Linked DNA regions of Homo sapiens: regions 2, 3 and 4 are each linked to region 1. The links are contacts of gene promoters, found by promoter capture Hi-C in blood cells and fetal thymus (Javierre and others, 2016). All regions are on one chromosome and are shown on one strand. The core of a region is centred on a gene start or on the middle of the fragment in contact, and the rest is flanking DNA. Distances in the headings are between cores, read along the strand shown. Region 1 holds the start of SPATA12 (spermatogenesis associated 12). Region 2 has its middle 24 kb from the start of TASOR. Region 3 has its middle 41 kb from the start of TASOR. Region 4 overlaps ARHGEF3 (Rho guanine nucleotide exchange factor 3).

Region 1 (6,508 bases), core at 1,471-3,970:
TTTGCCACCAAGTTAGCAACTCTGATAAAATTTCAGATGAAACTAAAACTATTGTCCAAAGTGAATTTCCTTTTCCTCATATTGACTGGGCTTTAACCCTTCAGTCGTGTCCTTGCCATGGCCACATTCACCAAAAGCCGACTGTAAAGGAAGGGAGGGTTACCTATTTCCCACAATCTCTTTCAATTAAAAGTCCTGAAAGAACAAGTTTCTTTCCATAAAATAAGCCATGTGGCCTTTTACACAGAAAAATAAGGAATGCCTGGAAATTAGTATTACCACTTGCTCCCTCAAGGGCCAATCTACATTACACCTATTTTCTCTATTTTCACATTTATGAGAACTTGTTCCAAATCAGTCTGGTCTTTTTGAAATGCCATTACAGTTTTACATACATTGGACAAAACTGTCATAGACTGTGATGCTCTCGGCGTCCAGCAAAATGAGTGATACTTGTACCCAATGGGTTTGTTTCATGTCACCTGCCCTTCAAGGTCCCAAAAGTGTGCATAAAAATAACAACTTGAAATGCTCACATGCCAGGAAACAACAGGTGCTGGAGAGGATGTGGAGAAATAGGAAAACTTTTACACTGTTGGTGGGACTGTAAACTAGTTCAACCATTGTGGAAGTCGGTGTAGCGATTCCTCAGGGATCTAGAACTAGAAATACCATTTGACCCAGCCATCCCACTACTGGGTATATACCCAAAGGATTATAAATCATGCTGCTATAAAGACACATGCACACGTATGTTTATTGCGGCACTATTCACAATAGCAAAGACTTGGAACCAACCCAATGTCCAACAATGATAGACTGGATTAAGAAAATGTGGCACATATACACCATGGAATACTATGCAGCCATAAAAAATGATGAGTTCATGTCCTTTGTAGGGACATGGATGAAGCTGGAAACTATCATTCTCAGCAAACTATCGCAAGGACAAGAAACCAAACACCGCATGTTCTCACTCATAGGTGGGAATTGAACAATGAGAACACATGGACGTAAGAAGGGGAACATCACACACCAGGGACTGTTGTGGGGTGGGGGGAGGGGGGAGGGATAGCATTAGGAGATATACCTAATGTAAATGATGAGTTAATGGGTGCAGCACGCCAACATGGCACATGTATAGATATGTAACAAACCTGCACGTTGTGCACATGTACCCTAAAACTTAAAGTATAATAATAATAAAAAAAAGAAATGCTGACATGCAATCATACTTAACTATGCCTTTTTTTACTATAAAATATATTCATTACTTGTATTTTCTAAATTTTTTCATAAGCACAGGGAAAAAATTTTAAGCCTTGTCTTTAAGCCTAGAGCAAGGGTGTCCAATTTTTTGGCTTCTCTGGGACACACTGGAAGAAGAATTGTCTTGGGCCACACATAAAATACACTAACACTAACAATAGCTGATGAACTAAAAAAAAAACTCATAATGTTTTTTAAAAGTTTATGAATTTGTATTGGGCCACATGTTAGACAAGCTTGGCCTAAAGATAAGTCACATTTTGGAGTCTGTTCTTCCCCGTGTGTGTATGAGTTGGGGGTGGGGGGAGGGAGGGTGGTGAGCAGCATGATTACAAGTCCAGGCTCCTTAATCAGTGATAGGTTCAAATCTGGCTCTGCTATCTGCCACCCACATAGCCTCAGGCAAGTTGCTTCCCTCCATAAGCACATTTCCTCTTCTGCAAAGTAGGACTGAAATGACTGCCTGATGGGGTGACAATGAGGCTTTAAAAAGACGAAGAGGGGCTGGGTATGGTGGCTCACGCCTGTAATCACAGCACTTTGGGAGGCCAAGTTGGGCAGATCACCTAAGGTCCAGAGTTCAAGACCAGCCTGACAAACATGGAGAAACCCCATCTCTACTAAAAATACAAAAGTAGCCAGGCATGGTGGCACATGCCTGTAATCCCAGCTACTCGGGAGGCTGAGGCAGGAGAATCGCTTGAACCTGGGAAGCAGAGGTTGCAGTCAGCGGAGATCACGCCATTGCACTCCAGCCTGGGCAACAAGAGTGAAACTCTATCTCAAAAATAAAAATAAAAATAAAAATAAATAGATGAAGTGAGGGACAAGGCATGGTGGCTCACACCTGTAATCCCAGCACTTTGGGAGGCCAAGGCGGGAGGATCACTTGAGCCTAGGAGTTCAAGAGCTGACTGGACAACATAGCGAGACCCCATCTCTATAAAAAATTTTAAAATTAGCTGGGTGTGTGACATGTACCTACAGTCCCTGTGGGAGGATCTCTTGAGCCTGGGAGGTCAAGGCTGCAGGGAGCCGTGATTGTGCCACGGCACTCCAGCCTGGGCGACAGAGCTGAGATTCTGTCTCAAAAAAAAAAAAAAAAGGAACTTAGCCCAGGGCCCGTATGCAGCAAGCACTTAAATGGTATAGCTGCTGCTACTCGGGTTATCAAAAAGGAGCTGCAAAAAAGTCTAGGTTCTGCAGGAGAGCCCTTCCAAGAACCTGCCCAGGAAGTGGGTACACCTGTCCCCACCCCCACAGTAGGAGTCAGAATCAGGGACTGGAAGGGATGGGGTTCCTGGAGGAAGCTCACAGCAGCAGCAGCCTCTGAGTCACAACTCAGCCCCTCCCTGGCATATCCCTTTGTTTGCTGGGAGTTGAGCTGTGACTCACAAAGGCTCTGGTCCCGGGCTGGGCCCATGTGACCCAGGGTCCTGACTGCCCTGCCCACAGTCACTGAGAAAATTCTTTGTGCAGGCTCACCTTCCCCTCATCTCCCCCACTCTTCCTGATCCTGCAGCGTCAGATCCCAGCCTGCAGTATCAGACCTCAAAAGGAGCCTCTGGTGTCTTGTGAGTAGTTTACCTGCCGCCCCACCCCCACCCCGAAACACACACACACACATGGGCACACACCACCACCACTTCTTTTTTGGCCTGTGCCTGTTTTTTCACTGTGCTACATTTTGACATAAGTTCAATCTATAAAGAAAAAGTCCAGGAGAGTCCAACTCCTCTTATACTCTTTTTTATTGTGGTAAAATATAATATAAAACATACCACTTTAACCATTTTTAAGTGTACAGTTCAGTGACATCTAGCACATTCACCATATTGTACAACTCTTACCATTATCCATTTCCAGAACTTTGTTGTCATTCTAAACAGAAACTGTGTACCCATTCAGCGGTAACTCCTCCTGCACCTGCCCCTCTCCCAGCCCCTACTGTATTAATACTTCTCTCTCTAAACTTGCTATTCCAGGTACCCCCTGTAAGTGTCCTTTTGTGACTGACTTTTCTCATGTAGCATAATACTTTCATGGATCAGCATGTTGTAGCATGTGTCAAAAATTCCTTTATTTATTATTATTTTTTTTTTTGCAATGGGGTCTGGCCCTGTCATCCAGGCAGGAGTACAGTGGCACGATCATAACTCACTGCAGCCTCAAACTCCTGGGCTCAAGAGATCCTCCTATCTTGGCCTCCCAAAGTGCCAGCATTACAGGTGTGAGCCATCTCACTCAACCAGAAATTCCTTCCTTTTTAAGGCTAAATAATATTCCATTGTATGTACATACCACATTTTGTTTATCCATTCATCTGTCAATAGACATTTGTATTATTTTTACCTTTTGGCTATTGTGAATAACGCTGCTGGGAACATGGGAATGCAAGTATCTGTTTGGATCTCTGCTTTCATTTCTTTGGGTATATACCCAGATTTGGAATTGCTGGACTATATGATACCTCTATGTTTAACTCCTGTTACACTTTTAGGATTCTGGCAGCCACCACAGCTAACTCTCAGTGAGCAGTCTCTCATCCTGTGTTACTCACCACTCTAAGAATTTTTATTAACTCATTTAGTCCTGAGGTGTGGTATAATTATTTTCATCCCCATTTTACAGACAAAGAACCTGAGGTGAGAGAGGTCCTCCTTCTCAGATGGCAGCATCAGTATCTGAGCCCGCATAGGTTCAGATTTAAATTGTTTCTCCGGTTGTGACAAAAACAAGGTGCTGCTCTGCCTACAAGCATTTTCTGCCCTGAATAATGCCTTTGGGAGGGTTTCCACATCTTTCCTTGCTCTGGACTAAGGATCAAGTAAAAAAAGAGAGTGGGGCAGGGATGCTCCACTGGATTGGATCTGTCTAGACTCACTGCTAGCAGTGAGAAATCCAACTCCATCTAGATGGGTGAGAAGGGGGATTTGTAGGAAGATCCCTGGAGCAGCTCAGTCATGTGACTAGATCCAAAGGCAATGTGCCCAACCCTCCCCTCGCAGCTCCACACTCTGGGCCTGTCCTCACTGCTCTAGCGCTGGGTGAGTGCCTTCAAGCACCTTCTCTGCCACTTCTGAGTGGGTTAGGATGACCCTGAGGAAGCCCACAGCCTGGCAAGGGTGGCTTGTGTCTAGCTCCAGACCGGCTACCACAGCCGAGGGGAGGGGAACCATGATAGGCCCAGCCAGGACCACAGCCCCCACTCGGGCTCAGGCTAGGCTCAGGAGCACGGCGGCGGGGGCGGGGGGTGCTCAGGAGCATGGGGAAGCCTTTCAGAGAAGAGGGAAGGAAGCAGGGCAAGTGCCCAGCACAGATGCTGCATAATCTACAATAGCAAAAGATTGGAAGCTGCCCAGTAGTACTGAACAAAACAAGGTTAAATAAAGCTGCTCTAGCCACTCAGCAAAACACTATGTAGCTGTTTAACAAGCAGGAATATCTGGTGGGAATGACAGGACTCGCTGTTTCTCTGTCTACACACATGCACACACACACACACACAACAAACATGCACACACACATACATACACATATGTAATAATTCACAGGTAAGAAAAATATAGGCAAGAATTATATCATAATAGAAGAATCAAATGGCTTTTAATCTGTTTACCAAACTTTTCTTTACGGGTTCAACAAATTATTGTCTGTACCAGGCAAGGCACTGGGGACATGACAGGGAACACAATAGAAGAAAAATCCCTGCCCTCATGGAATTTACATTCTAGTGGGGGAGGCAGATGACAAGATAAATAAGCAAAATACACCTTATATTGGATAACGATAGTGTAAGGAGAAAAAGCAATGAAGGCAAAGGGGAAGTTGGGATGCAGTGGTAACGGTTTAGACACGATGACCAGGGAAGGCTGAAGGAAATGAGGGACCAAGCTCTGCAGATATTGGGAGAGGTGCATTTTGGGCAGCGGGAATAGCAGGTGCAAAGGCCCTGAGGTGCCCACGCAGGGAACAGCATGGAGGTGATGTGGCTAGAGTGCGGTTATGAGGGGGAAGGGCAAACTAAGAGAGGAGTCAGAGAGGAAATGCAGCCAGATCACATGGGGCCTTGCAGCCAGCCACCCTAAAGGCTTTGGCTTTGTTGCAGTGAAATGAGAGCTATTTGAGGGCTTTGAGCAGAGAAGTAGCCAACCCTTCAGAAGGTTCCCTCTGACTCTGAGTTGAGAACAAGCTGAAAGGAGGTAAAGGCAGAGGCTTGGAGGCCGCAGTCATTCAGGTGAGAGGGGAGAATGACCTGGAGGGTGGTAGGAGCGGGAGGGGAGCAGTGGCCACTCTACAAGTAGAGTCTTTTGACAAGTGAAGAGAAGAGAGATACAAAAGTCAAAGATGACGCCCCAGGCTTTGGGCCTGAGCAACCAGGAGGTTGGGGTGCTCCTTAACAGAGATGTGGGAAGAGGATCAGGAGAGTCGGGCATCCTAGAAGCCAGGTGAGACAAGGCTTCGAGGAAGAGAAAGTGACCAACTCCATCACACGCTGCTGGTAGTCAGGAAGGATGGCAACAGAGAACAGGCCATTGGGATGAGCAACCAGGCACTCACTGTAGACCTTGGTAAGAGATATCTGGGGAGAGGGGAGTGGAAGCCAAGCCTGCCTGAAATGAGGGGCTCAAAAGAGAATGGGATAGCAGCATCATTCACAATAGACAAAAGGTGGAAGCAACTCAGTGTCCATGACAGATGAATGGTAGAACAAAATGTGGCAAATGCATAGAATTGAATAATATTCTGCCTTAAAAAGGAGGGAAATTCCATGCCAGCTGTGCTGGCTCACGCCTGTAATCCCAGCACTTTGGGAGGCCCAGGGAGGGGGACTGCCTGAGCTCAGGGGCTCGAGACCAGCCTGGGCAACATGGCAAAACCCTGTCTCTACCAAAAATACAAAAAAATTAATTGGGCATAGTGGTGCATGCCTGTAGTCCCAGCTAACCCGGAAGCTGAGGTCAGAGGATTGCTTGAGCCTGGGGGGTAGAGGTTGCAGTGAGCTGAGATTGTGCCACTGCAGCAATCAGTGACAGAGTGAGGCCCCGTCTCAAAAAACAAAACAGAAAACCAAAAACCAAGAAGGAAATTCTTTCTTTTTTTTTTCTTTCTTTTTTTTTCTTTTTTTGGAGACAGGGTTTCCCTCTGTTATCCAGGCTGGGATGCAGCGGCAAGATCACGGCTCACTGCAGCCTCAACTTCCCTGACTCAAGTGATCCTCCCATCTCAGCCCCCAAGT
Region 2 (6,508 bases), core at 2,276-4,775, 350 kb before region 1:
CCAGTGAGGTGGAGGTTGCAGTGAGCAGAGATCGCCGCACTGTACTCCAGCCTGGGCAACAGAGCAAGACTCCATGTTGAGAAAAAAAATGGCACCTAGGCCAGCCACCTGCAGTGGCTCACACCTGCAATCTTGGCGCTTTGGGAGGCCAAAGGGGGAGAATCCTTTGAGGTCAGGAGTTGAAGACCAACCTGGGCAACAAAGCAAGACCCCACCTCTACAAAAAAATTAAAAACTAGCTGGGCATGGAGGTGCATGCCTGTAGTTCTAGCTACTCGGGAGGCTGAGGCAGGAGGATTGCTTGAGCCCAGGAGTTCAAGGCTAGAGTGAGCTATGATCACGTCACTGTACCACACACTGTATAATAGGGCAAGACAGTGTCTCAAAACAAAATAATAATGATTGCACCTACATCTTAAGAGGTTGTTGCACAGATTAAGCGTAATGTAAAATGACTGGAACACTGTTAGGTGTGGTTTTTGTTGTTGTTGTTGTTGTTTTGTTTTTTTGTTTTTGTTTTTTTTTGAGATGGAGTCTCGCTCTGTCGCCTAGGCTGGAGTGCAGTGGTGTGATCTCGGCTCACTGCAAGCTCCGCCTTCTCGGTTCATGCCATTCTCCTGCCTCAGCCTCCCGAGTAGCTGGGACTACAGGCACCCGCCACCACACCTGGCTAATTTTTTGTATTTTTAGTAGAGATGGGGTTTCATCGTGTTAGCCAGGATGTTCTCGATCTCCTGACCTCGTGATCCGCCCACCTCGGCCTCCCAAAGTGCTGGGATTACAGCTGTGAGCCACCGCGCCCAGTCACTGTTAGCTGTTTTTTAAAAAAATTGTAAAATACATATAACAGAAAATTTACCATCTCAACCTTTTTTTTTTTTTTTTTTTTTTTTTTTTCAGATGGAGTCTCACTCTGTCGCCCAGGCTCCTAGGCTGGAGTGCAGTGGTGCAGTCTAGGCTCACTGCAACCTCTGCCTCCCGGGTTCAAGTGATTCTCTGGCTGGCTAATTTTTGTATTTTTTACAGAGGCATGTTCACCATGTTGGCCAGGCTGGTCTCAAACTCCTGAGCTCAGGTGATATGTCCACCTTGGCCTCCCAAAGTGCTGGAATTACAGGCGTGAGGCACTGCACCTGGCCTCAACCATTTTAAGTGTACAGTCTACATAAGCAGAATATATATGGGAGAAAAAAGCATACAGTCCAATAGTGTTAAGCATATTCACACTGTTGTACAAATAATCTCCTATCCCCTTTTCATATTGCAAAACTGAAACTCTATACCAATTAAAGAACAGCTCGCCATTTCCCTCTCCCCGCAGTACTTGCTAACCATCACTCTACTTCCTGTCTTTATAAATTTGACTACTCTAAGTACCTCATAGAAATGGAATCATATAGTATTTGTCTTTTTGTGATTGGCTTGTTTCACTTAGCATAACATCCTCAAGGTTCATCTATGTTTTATCATATGTCAGGATTTCTTTTTAAGGCCGAATAATATTCCATTGTATGTACACAGAGCTGTTACATTTTAAAACAGAAATTTAAAAAATGACTTTGAGACTCCTGCTTCCAATTATACTGATCCCCCCATAAACAACTAGAAAACTGGCCAAAATACTCTAAACAACTATATTCAGAAATCAGACAATAGGCAGTGTGGATTGTAATCCCTAAAAGAAAGGAAACAAAAAGGTAAACCCTAAAACCACACCGGAATTTTGTCTGAAGGCAATTTCCAGGTTGTGGATGCGGGGAGGGGAATGCAAGTGAAGCTGAGCAATCTCTCCGAGATTTGGGGAGCAGAAGGTAACTGAAAGTTGCCAGGCAAAATTCTAGAGAATTGGAAGCTTTGTAGAAAAAGAGTTTCAGAAGACCGCATAGGAAGTCCCCTTGACTATGCATGTGTGGAGTAAAACCTTCATGAGGCTGAGAAAATAAAGACTTGGAATTGTAAACTGAATTACACTCAGTGTTCAAACTGAGTGGGGAGAAGTGAGAACTTCAATTAGCCAAGGTCCTGAATAACCAATGGAAAGTCTTCAATAATTAACTGAGCCATGTGACAAATATTCAGGGGGATCATGCTTAGACGGAATAATCCTGGAGTAAAGGCTAATCTATATCTGCCATAGCAAAAATTAAAATAGGCCTTAAAAGTATCAAACTGGGCTGGGTGTGGTGGCTCACGCCTGTAATCCCAGCACTTTGGGAGGCCGAGGCAGGCGGATTACCTGAGGTTAGGAGTTCAAGACCAGCCTGACCAACATGGTGAAACCCTGTCTCTACTAAAAATACAAAAATTAGCTGGGTGTAGTGGCACATGCCAGTAATCCCAGTTATTCGGGAGGCTGAGGCAGGAGAATTGCTTGAGCCCGGGAGACAGAAGTTGCAGTGAGCCAAGATCGTGCCACTGCACTCCAGCCTGGCTGACAGAGTGAGACTCTGCCTCAAAAAAAAAAAAAAAAAAAAAAGAAGGTATCAAAATAATCTATAATTAGCTTACCTGCCTGCCATAACAAAGCCTGATCTTCTCTTCCTCTCTTCTCTTCTCTTCCTTTGTTTCCAGCTATGATTGCACCACTGGAGTATGGTGGTGCAATCATGGCCCACTGCAGCCTCGACCTCCTGTGCTCAAGTGATCCTCCTGGCCTCCCAAAGTGCTGGGATTATAGGCATAAACCACCACGGCTGGACTAATATTCTTCTTCTTTTTTATCAAGGTGCTCAACAAAAGTAAACTGGCCTAATATCCTTAAAATAACAACAACAGCAACAAAATTCAGATGCTTACAATGTCCAGCATCCAATAAAATATTACTAAACATGCCAAGAAGCCAGAAAGTGCTAGCTTATAACCAAGAGAAAATCAATCAATGAAAACAGACAAAAATGATACGGATGCTGGAACTAGCAGATAGAAATATTAAAATAACTATTATTACAGTGTAAACACAGTTAAGTGAAAATATGAACATCATAAGCAAAGAAATGAAACTACAAAAGAGTAACACATGGAATATCCAAAGATTAAAATATAGTATCAGAATGAAAATGGAAGTTTCTCTGGAGGTATTAAGATTAGAAACTGCTAAAACATAAATAGTAAACTTGAGAACCTGGCAATAGAATCTGTTTTTAAAAATGAAGCACAAATGTTAAAAATATTTTTTAACCAAATGAACAGAGCCTCACTGACTTCTGGAAAAATATGGAGTGGTCTAACATATTCATAATTGGAGTCTCATAAGGAAGGATACTACAAAAAAACTATTTTAATAAATATTGGCTTATAGTTTTCAAATTTTATGGAAATCACAGACACAGAAACCCAAGACATTCATTGAATGCCAAGTAGGATAAACATTCTCACACATACAAACCTCACCAAGGCATGTCATAATTAAAATCACTAAAAAACCAATGATTAAGATACAATCTTAAATGCAGGCTCCTCTCAACCCCAAATACACATTACATACAGAAGAACAAAGATAAGAATTATTCACAGGCTTCTGGTAGAAACTGCAAACCAGAAGACAATGAAGTAATATCTTTAAAGTGCTCAGAGAAAAAAATATTGTAGATTAAAATTCTATTTTCAGTGAAAATACTGTTTAAAAATTAAAACAAGATTAAAGATTTTTCAAACAAAAGCCGAGAAGTTTATTGTTAGTATATATCTCCAATATAAAAAATGTTCAAAGAAAGTTCTTCAGGCTGAAATAAAATAATACCAAATGGAAACTTTTTTCTATACAAATGAAATAAGAGTACTAGAAAGGTAAATATAGCCGGGGGCGGTGGCTCATACCTGTAATCCCAGCACTTTGGGAGGCCAAGGTGGGTGGATCACCTGAGGTCAGGAGTTTGAGACCAGCCTGACCAACATGGAGAAACCCTGTCTCTACTAAAAATACAAAATTAGCCGGGCGTGGTGGCACATGCCAGTAATCCCAGCTACTCGGGAAGCTGAGGCAGGAGAATCACTTGAACCTGTGAGGTGGAGGTTGCAGTGAGCCGAGATGGCGCCATTGCACTTCGGCTTGGGCAACAAGAGTGAAACTCCATCTCAAAAAAAAAAAAAAAAAAGAAAAGGTAAATATTGGCACAGATATAACAATTTTTTCTAATTGTTTTATTTCTTTAAAAGATAAATATGTCTATCTATCTCTATTATGTTAAAATAATAATAAAATTTGGAGCTTAAAACATGAGAAGACACATGTGTAACAACACTACCACAGAGAAGGGGGTGAAGGAAATGGAAGTATATTGGTGTAAGATTCTACGTTATACATGAAAGGTATGATACTATTATTATTATTATTATTATTTTTGAGACGGAGTCTCACTCGGTTGCCCAGGCTGGAGTGCAGTGGCGCGATCTCAGCTCACTGCAACCTCTGCCTCCTGGGTTCAAGCAGTTCCCTGCCTCCTGGGTTCAAGCAGTTCCCTGCCTCAGCCTCCGGAGTAGCTGGGATTACAGGTGCCTGCCACCACTTCCGGCTAATGTTTGTATTTTTAGAAGAGACGGGGTTTCACCATATTGTCCAGGTTGCTCTTAAACTCTGGACCTCATGATCCACCCGCCTTGGCCTCCCAAAGTGCTGGCATCACAGGCATAAACTACCGCGCGTGGCCGGTATGATATTATTTGAAGGTAGATGGTGATAATTTAAAGAACAAACACTAAACAAACAAACAAAAAACCAAAAAAGACCAAAGAGAATAACTACTAAAGGGGAGACAAATACAGTATTAGAAAATATTTAATCTGGTCAGGTGCTGTGGCTCACGCCTGTAATCCCAGCACTTTGGGAGGCCGAGGCGGGCAGATCACTTGAGGTCAGGAGTTCGAGACCAGCTGGGCAACATGGCGAAACCCTGTCTCTACTAAAAATATAAAAAATAGCCGGGCGTGGTGGCACGTGCCTGTAATCCCAGCTACTTGGGAGGCAGAGGCATGAGAATTGCTTGAACCCGGGAGGCAGAGGTTCCCTTGCCACTGCACTCCAGCCTGGGTGACAGAACGAGACTTTGTCTCAAAAAAAAAAAAAAAAAAGTAATTAATCCAAAAAAAGTTGGTAAAGAGAGAAAGTGGAATCTAAAACAAATGGAACATACAGAAAACAACTAACAAGATGGCAGACTTAAAATGAATTATATTATTAATTACATTAAACATAAAGGGTATAAAGCTTCCAATTGAAAGAGACTGTCAGGCTAGATTAGAAAAAAAAAAAGCAAGAGGCTGGGCGTGGTGGCTCATGCCTGTAATCCCAGCACTTTGGGAGGCTAAGGTGGGTGGATCACAAGGTCAGGAGACTGAGACCATCCTGGCCAACACGGTGAAACCCTGTCTCTACTAAAAATACAAAAATTAGCTGGGCCTGGTGGCATGTGCCTGTAATCCCAGCAACTCGGAGGCTGAGGCAGGAGAATCTCTTGAGCCAGGGAGTCAGAGGTTGCAGTGAACCAAGATCATGCCACTACACTCCAGCCTGGCGACAGAGCAAGACTCTGTCGCAAAAAAAAAAAAAAAAAAAAAAAAAAAGCAAGACTCATATATATGCTGTCCACAATAAATCTATTTAAATATATATTAGTCCGGGCGTGGTGGCTCAAGCCTGTAATCCCAGCACTTTGGGAGGCCAAGGCAGGCAGATCACTTGAGGTCGGGAGTTCGAGACCAGCCTGGCCAACATGGTAAAACCCCATCTCTACTAAAAATACAAAAAATTAGCTGAGCATGGTGGCAGGTGCCTGTAATCCCAGTTATTTGGGAGGCTGAGGCAGGAGAATCGCTTGAACCCAGGAGGTGGAAGTTGCAGTGAGCTGAGATTGGGCCATTGCACTCCAGCTGGGGTGATAGAGTGAGACTCTGTCTCAAAAAAAAAAGTATACACACACACACACACACACACACACACAGATTAAAATATATAAGATGACAAAATATATACCATATATGCTACAAGTCAAAAGAAAGCTAGAGTGGTTATGCCAATATAAAGAGACTTTATAATGAGGAGTATTACTAGAGCTAAGGGAGAAACATTTCATAACCATGAAGGGGTAATTTCATCAAGAAGATAAAACAGTCCTGAATGTGTTGGTATCCAATAACAAATCTTCAAAATACATATCCCAAAACTGATAGAATTTAAAGGAGAAATAGACAAATCCAAACTTACAGTTGGAAATTTTAGTACTTCTCTAATTAATATAAAAGGTAGACAGAAAATCAAGGCCAGGTGTGGTGGCTCACACCTGTAATCCTAGCTTTTTGGGAGGCTGAGAAAGGAGTTGGAGACCAGCCTGGACAATATAGTGAGACCCTGTCTGAAAAAGCAAACAAATGGCTGGGCTCGGTGGCTCACACCTGTAATCTCAGCACTTTAGGAGGCCGAGGTGGGGGGATCACCTGAGGTCAGGAGTTCAAGACCAGCCTGGCCAACATGGTGAAACCCTGTCTCTATAAAAATACAAAAATTAGCTGGGCG
Region 3 (6,508 bases), core at 1,240-3,739, 340 kb before region 1:
TTTCTACTTAACATTAAAAATATGGAATACAGCTATAACAACTGTTTTAACATCCTTGTTGGCTAATTCTAACATTTCTGTCAGGTCTAAGTCAGTTTGGATTGGTTTTTATGTTTTTCTTCTATGGGTTGTGTTTTCCTGCTTTGCATGTCTTGTAGTCTTTCATTAGATGGCAGGCACTGTGAATTTTACCCTATTCAGTGCTGGATAATTTTGTATTCCCATAAATATTGTTGAGCTTTGCTCCAGGATGCAGTTAGGTTACTTGGAAACAATTTGATACTATTTGGTCTTTAAGATTTATTAGGTTGGACCAGAGCAGTGTTTACTCTAGGACTAATTATTCTCCACTACTGAAACTAGACCCTTCTGAGTACTTTACCCAATGCCCTGTGAATTATATTCTTCTAGTCTGGTTTGTGAGAATAGGCACTATTCCAAGCACTATGTGTGTTCTAATTTTTTTAGGGTATTTCCCCTCAGCCTTGGGTATTTTCTTCACATGTATGCACTTTTCAATACTCTGCTTAATACCTGAGGGGGACTCTCTACAGTAATCTCTGAGGTTGTCTCTCCATGGACTGCTCTCCTCTTTGTTCTGTAAACTGTAGCTGCCTTGGTCTCCCTAAACTCTCAGCTCCAAAACTTCCACTCAGGAAGTTCACTGGAGTCTACCTGGGATCCCCCTCTGATATAGTTTGGATGTCTGTCCCTTCCAAATCTCATGTTGAACTGTAATCCCCAATGTTGGAGGTGGGGCCTAGTGGGAGGTGTTTGGACCATGAGGGCAGATTCCTCATGAATGTCTTGGTGTCATCCTCACAGTAATGAGTTATCTGAGTTCACACAAGATCTGATTGTTTAAGAGTCTGGAACTTCCTCCTTGCTCTCTCACTCTCTCCTGACATGTGACACGCTGGCTCCCCTTCACCTTCTGTCATGATTGGAAGCTTCTTGAGGCCCTTACCAGAAGCAGAGGGCAGCACTATGCTTCGTGTACAGCCTGCAGAACCATGAGTCAAATAAACTTCTTTTCTTCATAAATTAACCAGGCTAGGTATTCCTTTATAGCAATGCAAATGGACACCCTCCCTGTGCTGTGTCCTGAAATCCCTTTCAAGACTGGAAGTTGGAGCAATTGCAGGGCTCACCTCATTTATACCTCTTCTCTTAGGGTCACTGTCCTTCATTGCCTGATGTCCAGTGTCTTCAAAGCTATAGCTTTATAGGTTTTTTCATCTTTTTGTTTTTATTTCAGTTGCAAAGGCAAATCTGGTGCCTGTTACTCCATCATGGCTAGAACTAATTACTTTTCTTTTTTTTTTGAGATGGAGTCTCGCTCTGTTGCCCAGGCTGGAGTGCAGTGGTGCAATCTTGGCTCTCTGCAACCTCCGCCTCCCGGGTTCAAGAGATCCTCCTGCTTCAGCCTCCCAAGTAGCTGGGACTACAGGCATGCACCATCATACCTAGCTAATTTTTGTATTTTTAGTAGAGACGGGGTTTCACTATGTTGGCCAGGCTGGTCTTAAACTCCTGACCTCAGGTGATCCTCCCAACTTGGCCTCCTAAAGTGCTGGGATTACAGGCATGAGCCACTGCGGCCGCCTTTTTTTTTTTTTTTTTTTTTTAAAGACAGTGTCTTGCTCTGTCACCCAGGCTGCAGTGCAGTGGCTTGATTTTGGCTAACTGCAAACTCTGCCTCTTGGGCTCAAGTGATCCTCCCATAGTGCTGGGATTACAGGCATGAGCTACCACAACCGACCTAGAACTAATTACTTTTAAAGAAGTTTAAATAGTAAGAAAAGCCTCTCCTATTTTCTGACATAGTTGCATTTTTAGTGCTCTTCATTCTGTTGTTTGGATCCATATGTCCACAGGGTATCATTCTGTTTCTCTTCAAAGAAAGTCCTTTTAACATTTCTTGTAGTGGAGGTCTGCTGGTGATGAATTCTTTTAGCTTTCATATGCCTGAAAAAGTATTTTGCCTTTGTTTTTGAAATACGCTTTCATTTATCTTCCCAGAAAACAATCCATCACGATAACAAAAAATAGAAACACAAAACCCATCTTTGATGATTCCAAAGATCTGTTTATCCTTGGACCACAACATTTGAAAATGGAAAGCAAATGGTGAAATAACATAAATGATGACAATAGTAGACATATATGTTTACTATATCAGGAACCAGTATCTATCAGGGGCTCAGCAGCATACTCAAATATCACATATTCAAATTAGGAGGTTTTAATAAAGGGACAGTACACAAAGTTTGGGCAGTGTGTAGGGACAATACAATATCCTGGGGCTAGTGACAGTGGGGTTGTTACCATACTAGGCTAGAAGGGTTACAGGAATTCAGAGAGGACTCCTTGAGAGAAGCTGTGACCTCACGATAAGAGATGCAACCAGCCCAAGGAAATCCTCCAGGTGGGAGCTGGAGGAATGAATACTCTAAACTCACTCTTCTCCCTCTCACTGATATAATGACAGGATTTTCACTGGGCCAAACCAAACCAGAAACGTCAGGCAGGAGAGCCCATGATGAAGTACACACAGAAGAGTGAATCAGGGTGCATAGTGGATTTGGAGAAGTAAACAAAAATACGGGGCATAGCCCCATTCTAAGGTTTTTTTTTTTTTTTTTTTTGAGACGGAGTCTCGCTCTGTCGCCAGGCCGGAGTGCAGTGGTGTGATCTCGGCTCACTGCAACCTCCACCTCCCAGGTTCAAGCAATTCTCCTGCCTCAGCCTCCTGAGTAGCTGGGACTATGGGCACGCCACCACACCCAGCTAATTTTTTGTATTTTAAGTAGAAATGGAGTCTCACCATGTCAGCCAGGATGGTCTCGATCTCTTGACTTCGTGATCCGCCCGCCTCAGCCTCCCAAAGTGCTGGGATTACAGGTGGGATTACAGGCATGAGCCACCATGCCTGGCCCATTCTAAGTACTTTGGATGTATTACTACATTGAATCCTCCCCCAAATCCTATTAATTACCATTATTATTCCCAGATAAACAATGAAAGATGAAGGAAAATTCAACTGAACTGTGACATCTTCTGAGAGTTCAGAGAAGACACTGCCTTCATTAAATAAAAATAAGGGTGCTTTAAGTATAGAAAGAATGATAGAAAAACTTATAGTAGAAAAAAAAACTGATGGCAACCCTCTCCTCAAATTAATAGAAGGATCTGAAGACAAAGGTGAGGAAATCTCCTTGAGAGTTGAACAAAATATAAATAAATAAAAAGTAAGAATAAAGAGATTAAGACTATTTGAAAATCAATCCAGAAGTTAAGGCATAAAATCCAGAAGGTTCATCTCTCTTTCTGGAATTCCTGAAAGAGAAAATAGAAAATTGTGGGAATGAAAATATGTAAGAAAAAAAAATACAAGAAAAAATTCCAAATTATCTGGATTGAAAAGTCTCTCCAGGTATATAGTACAACGAATGAAAAAGACCCAGGCCAAGGCCACACTTTTGAGAAATTTCACATGTACGGTTTATTTTTTTTTATTTTTTGAGACAGAGTCTCACTGTGTTACCCAGGCTGGAATGCAGTGGTGCAATCTGTGCTCACTGCAACCTCCACCTCCCAAGTTCAAGTGATTCTCGTGCCTCAGCCTCCTGAGTATCTGGGATTACAGGCGCCTGCCACCATGCCCAGCTAATTTTTCATATTTTTAATAGAGACGGGGTTTCACCATGTTGGCCAGACTGATCTTCAACTCCTGGTCTCAAGTGATCTGCCCTCTTCGGCCTCCCAAAGTGCTGGGATTACAGGCATAAGGCACCATGCCTGGGCAACATGTACAAATTTAAAAGTGATTATTAAATAACAATGAAAACTACTAGCTCTTAGTATCTTTTTAAAAAGTGATTTCACATACAGTCTCACATTTAAATGGGCTTGAAGGGTCCAGTGTCCCTGGCAACAGAGAATAAAACACTTGTAGGATGTCATTTTCAAACCTTTCACAGATGAGAGAGCACAGTTCATTAATACCTAGGTATGTTTGCATGTGGACAAGCTTTGGAATGCATGTCCAGTTTCCTAGGCTAAGTGATTAGCTCTTAAAGATACAGTGCATGACTTCTAATTCCTTGCTATTCCCTCACGTCAACTGAAAACTGCTTTGACTAGGTAGGTCTGTGCAGCTGACTGATATATGAACCAAGCCTGGAGAAAGGAGATATGATGTCATGAGCATTTTTTTTTCCAACTTGTTTCCCTCAATACCCTTCAGGTACAGTGAATACGGTCACCTTTTCTCACTGTGTGCTCATGCGGACAAGGTTTTAAATTTTGATGATTGTCAGATTTTTACTGGTAGGTTTGGGCTTGGGTAACCCTCTTCCCTTCCAATAGTGTAGTTCTAGAATTCTGTCAATAAACAAGCTAGTGTGAATTAATTGAATCAGCTGCATCAATAAGGGGGGGTATTCAGTGTCTTCTCTCCTCAATGCCAAGGGGAACCAGGTGAGTGAAACTGATTGGCCAGACAGTTTCTTTGCCAAATCTTTGAGAGTCCTCAGGCTTTGGGAGAATTAGTAAAAAACGGACATGGACAGAATGTAAATGGAAAGTTGAACAGGCTCTTCACCAAGATGGTGGGTTGCAGTTTCCTGCAGCCACACAGTCTTTGTTGAAACAGGGCTGTGGTTATGAAGAGTTGTGCATTCTTAGCTGCCGCAGACTGTGCTGGGAATGGAAACTAAAGCAGTCAGTGGCGGTGACCACAACCCAGAAGCTGAAACCATGCTCTAATTTTACAGAAAATTGCTAGTTCTGGCTCTGTTCATTGCTTATGAGTTTTCATTTAGACTGCAAGGATTACATCTAGTTGTATGTGAAATAACATCTTGAAAATTGACTGAAGAAAAACCATTTAGCCCTCACTCATTTGTACTAACCCACAAAATGTCAGTACAAACATCTTCTAATATACTGTAAGATACATCCTTTAGCATTGACAGTCAGTACAATTATAGGAGTGAAAAACAGAGGGAATAGCCAAAGCAGCAGTGAGAAAAGAGGACGGACAAAAAAGATGAGGAGGAGGAGGAAGAAAAAAATTAGGAGAAGCGACTTTGCATTTGGGAAAAAATTTGGACTTATATTTATTTATGTGAATATCTTGCCAAATTTGGGAATTAACAGTATGTTAAAGAAAATGGTGAGAGCTGGCCGGGCGTGGTGGCTCAGGCCTGTAATCCCAGCACTTTGGGAGGCCGAGGCAGGCAGATCACAAGGTCAGGAGATCGAGACCATCCTGGCTAACACGGTGAAACCCCGTCTCTACTAAAAATACAAAAAATTAGCCGGGCGTGGCAGCGTGCGCCTGTAGTCCCAGCTACCTGGGAGGCTGAGGCAGAAGGATGGCATGAACCCAGGAGGTGGAGCTTGCAGTGAGCTGAGATCGCACCACTGCACTCCAGCCTGGGTGACAGAGCGAGACTGTCTCAAAAAAAAAAAAAAAAAAAAAAGAAAAAGAAAAAAAAGAAAATGGTGAGAGCTTATTGTAAAGATAAGACTAACTACCAGCCTTATTGGGCCAATGTGCTATTGAGAATTGGCTACTAACAGCTTAAAAATGTTTAGCCTTTTCATCTAAAAAACCTCACTCATTGTGGGACAGAGTACTAATCTTTTTTTTCTTTTTTGAGATAGGTTCTCACTCTGTCACCCAGGCTGGAGTGCAATGGTGTGATCACAGCTCACTGCAACCTCTGCCTCCTAGGCTCAAGGGATCCTCCCGACTCAGCCTCCTGAGTAGCTGGGACTATAGGCACATGCCATCAAGCCTGGCTAATTTTTGTGCTTTTGTAGAGATGAGGTTTTGCCATGTTGCCTAGGCTGGTCTTGAACTCCTGGGCTCAAGTAATTCACCTGCCTTGGCCTCCCAAACTGCTAGGATTAGAGGTATAGCCACTGTGCTCAGACTAGAAAGAGTACTAATCATTTTAATTAAAGTAGACTGAAATTCCAGTAAGAATTTCAAAGTGAAATTTGCCTTCTTTTATTTAGCCTCAAGTTCCTCAACAGTTACCTATATTAGCAGTGAGATTCAACATTTCTTTTCTATAACAACTATGACTTACCACTTGACTTTATACATAGTATGGATTCCAGATAGAGTTATTAAAAGTGAACACATAAATAAGTGAATGAATAGAGAATGCTTGAGAAAACAGATTTTAGAATTATGAGTTCTTGGACAGACTCAGAGGCTTACGCCTGTAATCCCAACACTTTAGGAGGTTGTGGCAGAAGGATCACTTGAGGCCAGGAGTTCAGGACCAGCCTAGGCAGCATAGTGAAACTTCAATCTTTACAAAAAATTTAAAAATTAGCCAGATGTGGTGGTGTGTACCTGTAATCCCAGTTACTTGGGAGGCTGAGGCAGGAGGATTGCATAAGCCCAGGAATTTGAGGCTGCAGTGAGCTATGATCACACCACCACACTCCAGCCTGGGTGACAGAGTGAGATCCTGTTTCAAAAGAA
Region 4 (6,508 bases), core at 1,488-3,987, 300 kb before region 1:
GTCCATCTACACACCCTCTGCCCTTCTCTTTTTTTTTTATATTCAACATGTGCTGTATTTATAGGTTTGTTTGTTTCTTTCATGTCTATTTCCTTCCAATAGAAGGTAAACTCCTTGAAGGCAGGCATATCTACCTCCTCTATTCACTGATGGATTCATCAGCAACTGATATAGTAAGACCTCAACAACTTTTGCTTAATGATTAAATGTTATGCTTGCTATGTGCTGGGCACTGTGAGGGGAGCTTTAGAGCCCTGCTTATCTGAGAGGTAAGGATTCTGTCCCCTTTACAGACAAGGAAACTTGAGGCTCAGAGAAGGTGACACTTTGCTGAAGGTCACACAGCTAATGAATGGTGCTTTATTATTTAAAACCCGGTGGTAAGGTGACTGTCAGAATGACAATCCAAGTCTGGTCTATTTCAGGCCAACCTCCCTGCCCCAATATTTAACCAATATCCTACCCTAATTGCCCTAGGATAAGATTCATAGTGTAGCGGGGTACATGTGCCCAAATAAATGAACTGTAGTTTACTTCTTGGCCTGTAGAAAGTTTCTCAACCTGGCCACCACAACATTTTGGACTAGAGATTCTTTATTGTGGGAGGCTCTCCTGTGCATTGTAGGATATTTCGCATCATCTTTGCCCTCTAACCACCAGATGCCAGCAGCACAGCCAGCCCAGTTATGACAACCAAAACACCTCCAGACATTGCCAAATGTTCCTGGGGTGAGAAACGCCAGTCCACGGTAACTAGAAGAGGCCCACCTCAAAGTGAGGGACCTGGCCTTGGGCAGGACCACATAAAAACAGAAGCACATACATAGATCTCCCTGGGTGTGGGGATGCTGGGACCGGAGTGAAAAATATTCCAGGACAAGCAAGAGTTTCCATGAGGGAATCTGGCCTAGCAAATGAGTCAAAAACTGCAATCTCATAATTGCTGGCAGCTAAAACAACAATGACCATAAAACAGAGATAATGCAGATTGAGGAAATGGTGCTCAAGTTTATGCCCAAGCTGGATATGTGGAAAAGATGCTGCAGATGCAAAACAGACTGTCTGCCGGGGGTTGGGGGACGGGGGTGGCATGTGCGCTTTACACGTGTCAGAGGAAATGTAAACCCAGCAGGTAGACATGATGGGACAGATCTGATTTGTTAATGCCGCCTGTTCAGCGGAGTCCTCCCTTGCCCTTTTCCAAAAACCATTTTCCACAGCCACAGATAACATGCTCCAATAAAGTATTCAAGCCAAGGAAATTCTCCACACTTACCATGCTAACCATATTGCTATTTTGTAGCAGATGGTTTATTATCAGGGATTGGAGGTTGGGGTGGGACTGTAAGAGGAAAAAACTCTCCTATGTTGCCACTGCGGTGGGTTAAACCAAAATGTACAGCAATAATGGCCAGGACAGGAAAATGTTAACCAACAGCATCCTGGAGGAGTCTCCTATGAGGCTCCATTACAGAAATTAATGTTAAGTGAGAAGTAACACTTCCCAGCTGTGTGGTCTCTGTCACATTTGACCCTCATGCTAATCCTAGGAGAGGATGAGTAATTTGAGTAGCAGAGTGGTAAGTGAGTGGCACAAGTTAAGTGTTGGAATAGGAACTGAGTGCAATTGTTTGACTCCAAAACATGGATTTGGGTGAAGAACATAGGCTTTGGAGTAAAACAGGCATGGCTTCAAGTTGATTCAATGGCTGAGAGACCTTTCATCTCTCTGGGTCTCAGTTTCCTCATCTCTAAAAGGTGCATAATAATAAGTACCTCACAAAGTTGTAGTGAGGATTGGATAAGATAAAGTACACAAGAGGCTTGGCCAAGTCCCTGGCACTCGGTCAGCAGGAATGGTAGTTACCTATCATTGTCATACCACAGACCACACTGCCACTATTAGTGCTTGTTTATACGTGCTTTCATTAATTAGCAAACAGCAGACACATCTTTCTGAACTACCTGGGCCAAATGGCTCCTAGAGGGACTTCCATTAGGATAACTCCTAGGGAAAGAAAAGCCCTCAGCAGGACACTGTTGTTTATAAAAGATCTGGAAACAGCCTAAAATGTTCTACAATAGGGATTAAACAAATTACTCTGCAACAATAAAAGGGAACCTTAAACAGTTGTTAAGAAACATTCTTTTTGAGAAAAGCTTAATGATAAGGAGAGAGCCTCACATGCAGAGTTAAGTGAGAGAAGAAAGATCCCAATTTGAAATACAACAAAATGTTAACAAGGTTTACACCCCTGGATGGTGGGACTACGGATAATTTTTGTTTTCTTTTTAAAATTTTATTTATTTTTAATTTTTTGATTTTATTTTATTTTTTTTTGTAGGGACAGGGCCTTACTATATTGCCCAGGCTAGTCTTGAACTCCTGGCCTCAAGCAATCCTCTTGTTTCAGCCTCACAAAGTGATGGAATTACAGGTGTGAGCCACTGCACCTGGCTGATTTTTATTTTCATCTTTTAATTCTCTACATTTATTTTCCAGACTTTCTTTAATGAAGAAATATTAACTAAGAAGAAACACGGTCAGTTGACGAACATGAAAGACAATGAACACTGAGTTAGAAATGGTGCAATAAACATAAAACCACATATTTACAATCTGATTCAGATTGATGCACATTAAAACCATGGTAAAAGGGCACCCAATTAATTCATAATCAATAAATGTCAAACCTCAAAGACCCAGTACAACAAGAAACCCTTCTGTAGCTTGGAGATATTCTGAGTAGAATGAATGAAAAGCTGAAGAAAATATTTGGCTTAGGTGTAGAGAAAATATTATACAATTTGCATAGTGCAAGTCCAAAATTAGGAAGGCTTCCAGAGGCTTGGGGCAGTAGCTCAACCATCTTCATTGGGCACCATAAAATGGCTTTTGCATGAGAATGTTAATGACAAGATATTCCACAAGCTGAAATGGAAATGATGACTCTCCCTGCCACAGAAGGTGAACAGCAGTGAGGTGGGATGCTCCAACTCAAAAGTCTGGTGACTATTTTTAAATCCTGCCAAACTTCAGGCTTTATTATGACCAAACTTTGACTTTTTGTGATAAGCCTACGGCAGGAGAGGCACTCTGAACACCCTACGGAATCCCAGCTCTGGCACTTACCAGCTGTGTGACCTTGGGTACAATTTTAAACTTTCAGATCTCTCCCTATAAGTGGTGATGAATCCTATCTTGCAGAGTTTTGGAGAAGACGATATGAGGCCATGAACATAAGGTACTTTGTGCAGAACCTGGTTCATCATAGATACTACACTAATGAGTGTTATTACTAAATAAAAAATGACAAGCTTTAAATTACAATAGTCAACAAATTTTTTTTTTTTTTTTTTGAGACAGAGTTTCGCTTTGTTGCCCAGGCTGGAATGAAGTGGCACGATCTCAGCTCACTGCAGCCTCCGCCTCCCGGGTTCGAGCAATTCTCGTGCCTCAGCCTCCTGAGTAGCTGGGATTACAGGCGCCTGCCACCAAGCCTAGCTGATATTTTGTATTTTAGTAGAGACGGGGTTTCACCATCTTGCCCAGACTGGTCTTGAACTCCTGAGCTCAGGCAATCCGCCTGTCTCGGCCTCCCAAAGTGCTAGGATTACAGGCATGAGCCACCGCACCCGGCCCAATATCAACTATTTACAGTGGCTTCCAGGAACAATAAACAGTAATATTCTACCACTCCAGGAATAGTAAAGAACAGCAGAGAATCAGGAGTTCCTCTTGAGATGGACTACAGATAACTTGTCAGCTATACTCTCCAAGCTTGTCCAACTTGCCTTATTTTGTTGTTGTTCTGTTTGTTTTGTTTTAGGCTTTTAGCAGCCTGAAGCCATGGTTTTTAGTTTCTGTTTCCAGTGATAAGCGGAAAAGAGGGATAAGGAAGGGGCTTTACTGGCCCAACCAGAAAGAGAAACTAAGAACCCATGATTATATCCTCTCCCTTGGATACCCATTACAAGACAGTCTGGTTTCTGGTTGCTTTCCCTAACACACATGTGCCTTCCACCCCCAAGCTCATCTCCATGTCAGCCAAATAAGTTAGTTATAGAAAATTTATGACCTTGGACCAAGGGACAAAGTTTGAGGTCCTTGGAGAAGGTAATCATGGTTGCCAGACATGGAAATCAGCACATATGCTTGGGTAATTTCTTACTTATTATTTCTTATATCTAGATGGCATCAGCCATCCCATATTCCCTTCTGAAGCCTGAAACGCTTCCTCCCTTTCATCCTTATCATCTGTGAGCCATTCCAGGCCCAACCCAAATCCCTCCACCCTTGCTAAGCAGCCTTCCTTGACGACCCCTCAGGCCATTGCTAAACTCTCTCTGTAGTATATTTTATCATAGAAGATTTTCTAATCTTATTCATTTTTATTTGGTTGCAAAGGTAATACATATTAAAAAATTCAAGTATAACAGAAATATATAATGAAAAAATCAATAGTTCCAACTCATTTATTTTCTATTCATTTGTAATTCTTACATACTGGGGAAAAAAGGAGGAGAACACAAAATAAACAAAAGAACTGCAAAAGTATAATTGTATTCCCAAGAGACAACAGAAAAAAAAAAGAATTTGACGTTCCTGGTTTTTTTTCCCTATCCATATACTAATATGGGTGTATATTATCAACTGGGACAGTGGTTTTGAACTTTCCCCCAATTTTCTTCCTCTACTTGCTAATATACCTTAGACAACTTTTATCAAGTAGAACTTTTACAATCTCTAGAGCAGGACTACCTACCTTTCTGTATTGACTCTCTCCCCATTAAGTCTAGGCAGAATAAATAACACAGTAGATCCAAATAACATTAATGGAGACCACTAATTTATCATATGTTCATGCTGCATCTGGGTTGAATAAAATAACTCCCTGATCTAAGGGCCAGAGGATGGAGCAATGAGAGGCAGTGGTTGCTAGAAACCCTTCTTTGCCATAGCAATACTTCCTGGAGGGGCTACAACTGGGGGAGGGGACACATATTCTCCTTCAGCCCAGTTGAAGAAGATGGGCAGGGCCCCATCACTGGCAGCCACTGCCAGGCTCTGCAGAGAGCTTAGGAGCAGCAATGGCTGCCTTTTCTAGTCATAACGGTGATAATAATAGCAAGTACTAATTTTTGAGCACATCCTAAGTAATGTGTAGTATTAGGCACTGTGGATACAGAGATAAGTAAGACACCACCTTGGCTTGCATGGAAAACCCAAGGGACCCCTGGGAAGAGCTATCTTGAGGGATATCACAGCAAAGAGAAAAACTGTAGCAAAAGAGAAGGAGAAATGTAAGAAGTCTAGATTTAGATGTGAAAACAGAGAAGCAATTCTATCCAAAACTGACACACATCAAGAACAGAAGCCTTGCCGTATCAACGGCCTTTAGTATTCACACCCTTTGACCAGAATTCCATTTCTAGGAGTATAATCAAAGGAAAGAAAGAAATACAGACATACACATGATCAGGATGTTGAAAGCACTGTTATCTATAATGATGAAAAAACAGAAACAAATGTTCAACAACAGGAGAGTGATTAACTCAACTGTACATTCTTTTGATGAAATGCTTTATGAGTCCATTAAGAATCAGGTCTGTGGCGAGGTGTGGTAGCTCATGCCTATAATCCCAGCACTTTGGGAGGCCAGGGTGGTAGGACTGCTTGAGGCCAGGAGTTTGAGACCAGTCTGGGCAACATAGGGAGATTTTTGTCTCTATTAAAAAAAAAAAAAAATCAAGTCTTTGAAAACTACTTAACGACATGAAAAATACTCTTCTATTGTAGAGTTATTTTATACCGTTAAGACCAAAGGGAGTAAAAAAATAGCATATACAGTGTGATAGTCATTTTGTTTTAAAAAATGCACATGCGGCCGGGCGCGGTGGCTCACGCCTGTAATCCCAGCACTTTGGGAGGCTGAGGCGGGCAGATCATGAGGTCAGGAGATTGAGGCCATCCTGGCTAACATGGTGAAACCCCGTCTCTACTAAAAAATATTAAAAAATTAGCCGGGCGTGGTGGCGGGCGCCTATAGTCCCAGCTACTGGGGAGGCCGAGACAGGAGAATGGCTTGAACCCGGGAGGCAGAGCTTGCAGTGAGCTGAGATTGCGCCACTGCACTCCAGCCTGGGCAACAAAGCGAGACTCCGTCTCAAAAAAAAAAAAAAAAAAAAAAAATGCACATGCAAGTATAGTAAAAGGTAAGATTGCCTGAGTATGTACCAAAATATTAATGGAAGTTTTTTGGTGATGGGAAGTAGGATTACAAGTGACTTTTATTCTCTTTTATGTGCTTCACTATATTTTTCAGTATTTATTTATTTATTTATTTATTTTGAGACAGTCTCACTCTGTTGCCTAGGCTGGAGTGCAGTGGCATGATCTCAGCTCACTGCAACCTCCACCTCCTGGGTTCAAGTGATCCTCCCACCTCAGCCTCCCAAGTAGCTGGGACAACAGGTATGCACCACTACGCCCAGCTAATTTTCGTGT

What was found. Contacts are between HindIII fragments. The CHiCAGO score rates a contact against its expected background, and 5 or more counts as called.
Region 2: a fragment that was not itself captured here is called in contact with the fragment with the promoter of SPATA12 in region 1 in 3 of 17 cell types (M2 macrophages, monocytes and M0 macrophages); the score reaches 7.6 in M2 macrophages.
Region 3: a contact is called between a fragment that was not itself captured here and the fragment with the promoter of SPATA12 in region 1, in 1 of 17 cell types (M1 macrophages). The highest score is 5.1, in M1 macrophages.
Region 4: a fragment that was not itself captured here is called in contact with the fragment with the promoter of SPATA12 in region 1 in 1 of 17 cell types (M1 macrophages); the score reaches 5.8 in M1 macrophages.

Annotation. Positions count from the first base shown.
Region 1 is chr3:57,057,944-57,064,451 of GRCh38, forward strand. SPATA12 (spermatogenesis associated 12) reads left to right here and starts at 2,721. Exons shown (of 2, transcript NM_181727.2): 1 at 2,721-2,843. It also overlaps a transcript of ARHGEF3 not described here. RefSeq lists an enhancer at 5,846-6,508. The HindIII fragment of the contact is 10,199 bases long and covers 1,504-6,508 here.
Region 2 is chr3:56,703,585-56,710,092 of GRCh38, forward strand. No RefSeq gene overlaps it. Among named protein-coding and RNA genes, the nearest start is that of TASOR, 24 kb to the left of the region's middle. The HindIII fragment of the contact is 3,351 bases long and covers 1,851-5,201 here.
Region 3 is chr3:56,720,725-56,727,232 of GRCh38, forward strand. No RefSeq gene overlaps it. Among named protein-coding and RNA genes, the nearest start is that of TASOR, 41 kb to the left of the region's middle. The HindIII fragment of the contact is 3,083 bases long and covers 949-4,031 here.
Region 4 is chr3:56,761,415-56,767,922 of GRCh38, forward strand. The region is part of intron 2 of ARHGEF3 (Rho guanine nucleotide exchange factor 3); the gene reads right to left. Among named protein-coding and RNA genes, the nearest start is that of ARHGEF3, 37 kb to the right of the region's middle. RefSeq lists an enhancer at 1,538-2,415. The HindIII fragment of the contact is 1,158 bases long and covers 2,159-3,316 here.